Regions from separate parts of the Homo sapiens genome. Here region 1 is linked to region 2. Evidence: promoter capture Hi-C in 16 types of primary human blood cells and fetal thymus (Javierre and others, 2016). All regions are on one chromosome and are shown on one strand. Each heading gives the region's core, a stretch centred on a gene start or on the middle of the fragment in contact. The rest is flanking DNA. Distances are from core to core; before and after follow the strand shown.

Region 1 (3,146 bases), core at 243-2,742, 260 kb before region 2:
TAGATACCAGGTCCCTTCTTTTTCCAAACTAAAAACGTCCTGGGTGTTGGTAGCAGAAGGGCCGACTATAGGTTAATGTTGCTACTTATCCTGATTTGTGGGGCAGGGAGGGCTAGCTTTAGTTTTAAGCCAAATGTTTAAATGTTTCTCAAATCTATCTACCTCTTTACCTCCAAACCACCCAAGTCTGGGCCAGAATCATTAAAAGATGGTGCACTTGTGCCGACTTGACAGCCACAGCCTCCCACCAGGATCCCCACATTCTCTCCTGCCTCACAGAGCAGCCAAGATGATCCAGCCTCACCTCAGGTCAGACCATTTCACTCCCAGTGTGAAACCCTTCCGTGATTCCTTGATACTTTTGGGATCAAGCCTGACCCTTTGATGTGGTCTCCAAGCCTAGGTCAGCCTGACCATCATCCTCTTACCGCCTGACATTGCTGCAGGTGGGTGGAAGGCCTCGGCTCCTCTCAACTCCAAGCTTCTTTTCCTTTTAGGTATTGGAACCACATTCTTCCACCCACCTGGGGCACTTTCTCAAGCAAAACTCTCAGCCGCCTTCAATTTTGAGCTTAAACTTTACTTCTTTTCTTCCTCCCCCTAGAGTTCCTCACACATGAGCCCCTTGAACTCTGAGTTTGGGATCCTAAAACTTCTTAAGCTTTATTGTTACCCCTTACCTAACCAGAATCTAAGTTCCATGAAGGAGGGACCTCATCCATACTCCCCATGCCAGTGAATACATTTCGAGTAAACCCCAAAAGTATTTGCCAATGATAAGGTAAAAGCAGTGGGTTTCACAAAGGACAATACCATTTGCAGAAGAAGCACCACATAGCAATAAAAACCCAAATGGTTATCCAGATTATGTAAGGGCCACAATCATGGGCAAGGTCCCTATCATGTGTAAGAGACAATGTGAGTTATTTTGTCTATATGAAATATGCCTTTTGTTTGGTAGTTGTCATTTTTTCAAAGAACTTTTTGCTAGGCTATCGAAAAGGTGAACGACTCAGGAGAATGGGCATTATAGTTGACGGTTATTTAGCAACTACAGTGTGCCAGGTCCAACAACCTTATGAAGTAGGTGCAATTATTACTGCCATTTGGTGAATAAGGAAACTGAGATGCCTAGGAAATTAAGTAATTTGCCCAGTGCTATACAGCTGATCGGTTGAAATCGTATCTGAAGCCAGGCACTGCCATTCCCAGGCAGGCACCCATTGTACTGTCTCCCTGTGGAACTGCAGATCACCTTCCAATATTGAGGGTCTTCCACATTTGCCGGAAAATACCATGGGCTGAAGATGTGCAACAGGCTTTACCTCCCTCTCTCAAGAGGTGGAGCTGGTTCATGCCTCAGAACATAAAAGGGTGGGGTTTGATTTCTCATCTTTGTGAATTATTTCTGAAGAGTTTATTGTATAATCAGTGACTAAGTAATTGTGGCCACGAGGAGATACAAAGATGTTTCATTATGGATGGTGTAATATTTAACTTCACGGAAAGGACCCGGGGCTCTGTGGCTTCCCATCCGTCTTGTGACCCGGAATCATGGTGATCTAAAAGAGCCCTGTGACTCTGGGAAATTTGTTATCAAAGGATGTTAGCCACAAGTCCTGTTGGCAAATGGACCCCAGGTGGCCTGCAGTGCCAAGCTGTTTCCCTGCCAGCCTCCCAGTCTGGCCCTGACTCTCCAATGTAAGTGAGGGGCACAATGGAAATGTTATTTTAGGCCTTTCCACTTTAATTGCATTTCCTACAAGAGCGTCTGCGGGTTTTTCTTCATTTTGCTGGTGCCTCCCATATGAGTGGAGATCCACTGAGCAAGGTCATTGACCTACTAATTGTTAAAGGCATGTAGAAGCTCGGAGGGCTCGGTTCTCAACAATATCCTAATTATTATGCATTGGTTAGATGTTCTCTTCCCCATACTGTGTTATTGGGTTCATACTGGCTTCTAGTAGTAAAATCACTTGCTCTCTCTCTTAGCATGGTGACAATTCTGTTGTGATTAACTCTTTCCCAACTTCTTGAACCTGAGAAATATATTATTCTATTACAAGGAGTTCAAAAATCGTATATATATTTTTCTCTTTTATAACACACTTCTATGAAGTATCAGACATTTCATTTGCACTTTCTCATCTAACCTTCGCAACATCCTTATGCATACTTATTATTATTGTGTCCACTTTATAGAGGGGAATATTGAACAGAGGATTTGTTTGTTTTGTTTTATTTTGTTTTTAAGTGACTGACCTATCAAATGTCACACAACTAGTAATTAGCAGACTGGGTTATAAACTCAGGCAACTGGCTTCAAGCTTAACTACTTCATGCTTAACTACTGTACTGTGCTATTCTACTTTACTTCCTTGTATTGTTTTTAACTTGAGAGATTTTTATCCATTATAGTTGAATCCATGACTCTTGTTTGCTTGTTTATAAAAAACATATGGTCCTGAGTAATTAGGATGTATTTCCCAGCATCGTTCAGTTTCCATGACACTTACTCTTCCAACCCCAACACACACACAACTGTGCACAACATACAGTTGAATGCAAACATATAAATGTTGGTGCATTTTCCTTTTTGTGATATAAAATTGTCCTCTTTCTTATACACAATCACCTGACCAATTTTTTCAAGATGATCTAGAACCTATTATTTGTAAGCCACTTTGGAAATTAGGGGGACTTTTCTGAGACAGAAATAGCATCACCAATAAATATGGAATTCCAGGGAAGGTACACATAGGGTCTTAACCCTGGATGGACAGCGCTGATCTCTTCAAACCTTTTTGGAACTGATTTCACTTCACCTTAGAAATCAACCACATAACACATTGGGTTAGATCAATGCATCCTCTGTATCTCTTGGAGCAGCACCAGTGCAGAATTTTCCTTCTAAGATCAATGGCAGGCTGGGAAAATACCCAGACATCGGTACACAATGTGACAAGCAATAAGGAGTGGAGGTAAGAGATCCAGGCCAAGCCTTGGCCTCACCCACGCTTACTGGTCTTATGATCCTAGGCACCTTACAGCTTCTTTGAGTCTTGCTTTTAATTTCTTCACAATGGGCCTGACAATACCTGCTCTCCTTCTAGACTTTTCAAAGGGTGAAACGAGATGACAGCAGA
Region 2 (2,877 bases), core at 102-2,601:
ATCCTAGGCAATTCTGTCTTCTAGGTTACAGCAAGCAGCCCCCAGAATGGCCTTTATTGAAGCCTGAGTGACAAGAAGCCTGTAGCGGGGTGAGGGGGACCCGCTTGGAAAAAGGCCCCAAAAGAGGAGCTCTTCCTAACTCTCCAATGACATGGGAAAATTTTACTCACACAAAATTCCCTGGAAACCCAGCCACCTCCCGCTCCAAGAGAAGGCCTAGAGATGCAGTGGCCAGAGACAGCCTCAGGCCTTCTTCCCCATGCTGGGGGTGCTGCTGCTTGCCTTCACCCCGACCCGGTATCCCCACTTCCCGCTGCCCCAGATCTCCCAGGCTGAATGTCCCCTCTTCGCCTCCACTCTTCTGAGCTTCTAAGAGCTAACTCCAAGTGAGGAACTGAACCCCTTCCACCCCTACCTCCCCAGGCAATCTGTAGAGCTCTTGAGCCCTAATACCAGTGTCTGGGAGGCGCGTAAACGCTTCCATTTTTATCCTTCCACTGCAGAAAATGCCCAGTTTAGTCTGGGAGACACTCAGACCCCTCGGGACAAGGGTGGCTAGAGAGAGGTCCAAGCTGCCCTGGGTGGGTGGGGAGTCAAGGCAGGCCAAAGCTTCAGATTTAGACAGTAACCACCAAATCCGACCTGGGCTGCAGGTCCAAGGCCTCTTCCTCTTTCCTGCATGCTCCGCTCTGCCGCTGGCCCATCTTCCAATGCAACCCCTACAACTACCAAAGCAAAAAGGCCTGTCCCAACTCCATCCTCACGGCCCGATCCCCAACCCTCAGGGGATGCCGCTTCGTGTCTCCTCTTTATTTTACAACGCGGCCCTCCTTGCAGCCCTCACGAAAAGTTCTGCAGTGGGGTCCCCCAGCGTGGGGCCCTTCTCGAGACCCTTAAAGAGAAGGCTCGTTTGGTGGACCATACCCGGGCAGCGCGGGCCCGGGCCTGGACTGGTTCTACTTGTGTTCTGAGGTCCCTGACCACCGCCTTGGGTCCAGCCCTCGTCCAGGGGGCGGCGGTGCAGGGGAGACCGCGCGGCCCGGCCTGAAGCGCGGCCGCCCTCATCCCTTCCCCGGGGCTGGGGTGGGTCACCGGCCGACAAACACAGGAGGGGCCGCGTCCCCGTCCCCGACGCGCTCACAAACGCCGTGGTCGCCCGAACCTTCGGCCCCGCAGCATTCGGCTACAGGACCGCGACACTGCAGGGCCCCGGCTCTGCGCGCTGCGCTCCGGCCGCTCGGCGCGGGAGGACGTGCGGTCGCGCCTGCCTCGGTGGCCGCGCGGGGTAGGTGGCTGCGGGGACCGGAAGGATGGCGAGGAAGTCGGAAAGGGTTTCCTGAGATGAGAGATTACTTCCGTCCGGGCTGCGGCCTCTCTCTGGAGTCGGCTAGCCGGGGCTCGGGGAGCGGGGTGCGCAGGGCTCGGGGCCACGCCTTGCCACCTGCAGCGCCCGGGTGGGCCGCGGGGGCCTCGGCGGGACGCGCTCGGCCCTGTCGCAGGAGCTAACGCAGGGGGAATCCTTGCAGGTGGGAGCATTTCAGAGCGCACAAGCCATGGTGGCCAAACAGCGGATCCGGATGGCTAACGAGAAGCACAGCAAAAACATCACCCAGAGGGGGAACGTAGCCAAAACCCTGGTAAGGCGGGGTCGGCGCCGGCCAGGCAGAGCCCTGCAGCCCGGCGGGGTGGGGCGGAAGGTGGGGGCGGGGCCGGGCGGGTAGCGGCGCAGGGTCCGGCCTCCCGGCTCCCGGCCCGCCCCTTCTGCGGGGTCCTGCAGAGTGGGGGCTGAGAGCTGGGTTCAGGGCGGCGCGGTCTGCTTGGCGTCCTCGTGGGCGGAGAGGGCCCTGGTTGGTCGTGGCCCCTCTGGGAGTGGCTACCTGGGCTACCAGGGAGGCGCAGAGGAGCCCTCCTCCCCGACCCGCACCCCCTGTCCCCCTGCCCGGGAGACAGCTGGGCCTTGTCCCGGAGAAAGACGGAAAGCCTCATCCTTAGGGGCCAGTTAAGTCAACTGCATGACACAGAGCCTGGAACCTAGTATGTTCTAGAACGTTGCATGACACAGAGCCTGGAACCTAGTATGTTCTAGAACGTTTGTTGAATGAATGAATGAATCAATGGCTAAATGGAGGCCACTTGTCATCTCCTCCCGGACTCCACCTGTCTTCCCTCCCCAACAGACTTGCACCAGGATCAAGTTTTCTTTCCAGCCCCTTTGTGACGGTTTCACTGGAGGTGTGGAAAGAGCTCAAAATGGGGAGTGAGATTTGGACCCACATTCCCTCCAGCCTCTTTTTTCTCTTTTACCTCTCTTCCAGCGAGACCTCCCTCAGCCCCTAGGCTAAAGTCTAAGGGCAGCATTCCTATTCTTTCCACTTGGTGAATTCAGACTCATTCTCATGGTATAACTTTAGAGACCAGTTTATTGTCAGGCATTCGGTGTCCCTAGAACTGTAAATTCAAGCTTTGCAACTGGACTTTTAAGTAAAACCTGTGCCTTACACTCAGGAGTTTCTTTTAGCAAAGCAGATTATCATCAACAGAAAATGCGAGGCCTGTGACTTTGGACATTCAGAGGCATGAGTCGCATGGGTAGTTTGGCGAAGTTGGTCTCCAAGTATATGAGCAAAGGCGCCTGGGATCTGTTACCCCGTACAGTTAAGTGGAAATCCAGCTGAAGCCTGGAGTTTGGCTGGGAAAGCTTGCAGATTTGATGAATCAATTCCTTTTAGCCAAAGAAACTATATTGGTTTGATTAACTAAGCAAAAAGCTAGATCTGTAATCATCACACCAGAATTCTTGCAAAACCAAGCAGTATTACGGCAGAGAAACTCTAGGACCAAACTCAACTCTACTCAGAGCTTTATACACAAGTCTAA

The links. Contacts are between HindIII fragments. The CHiCAGO score rates a contact against its expected background, and 5 or more counts as called.
Region 1: a contact is called between a fragment that was not itself captured here and the fragment with the promoter of SERP2 in region 2, in 6 of 17 cell types (naive CD4 T cells, naive B cells, total CD8 T cells and 3 more). The highest score is 8.2, in naive CD4 T cells.

The regions. Positions count from the first base shown.
Region 1 is chr13:44,108,912-44,112,057 of GRCh38, forward strand. The region is part of intron 2 of LINC00390 (long intergenic non-protein coding RNA 390); the gene reads right to left. It overlaps SMIM2-AS1 (SMIM2 antisense RNA 1), which reads left to right and starts at 1,638. Exons shown (of 5, transcript NR_104065.1): 1 at 1,638-1,701. The HindIII fragment of the contact is 1,666 bases long and covers 660-2,325 here.
Region 2 is chr13:44,372,473-44,375,349 of GRCh38, forward strand. It overlaps SERP2 (stress associated endoplasmic reticulum protein family member 2), which reads left to right and starts at 1,352. Exons shown (of 3, transcript NM_001010897.3): 1 at 1,352-1,637. The coding sequence starts at 1,554. LOC105370297 (a long non-coding RNA gene) reads right to left here and starts at 1,094. Exons shown (of 2, transcript XR_001749858.3): 1 at 925-1,094; 2 at 1-725. The HindIII fragment of the contact is 1,852 bases long and covers 608-2,459 here.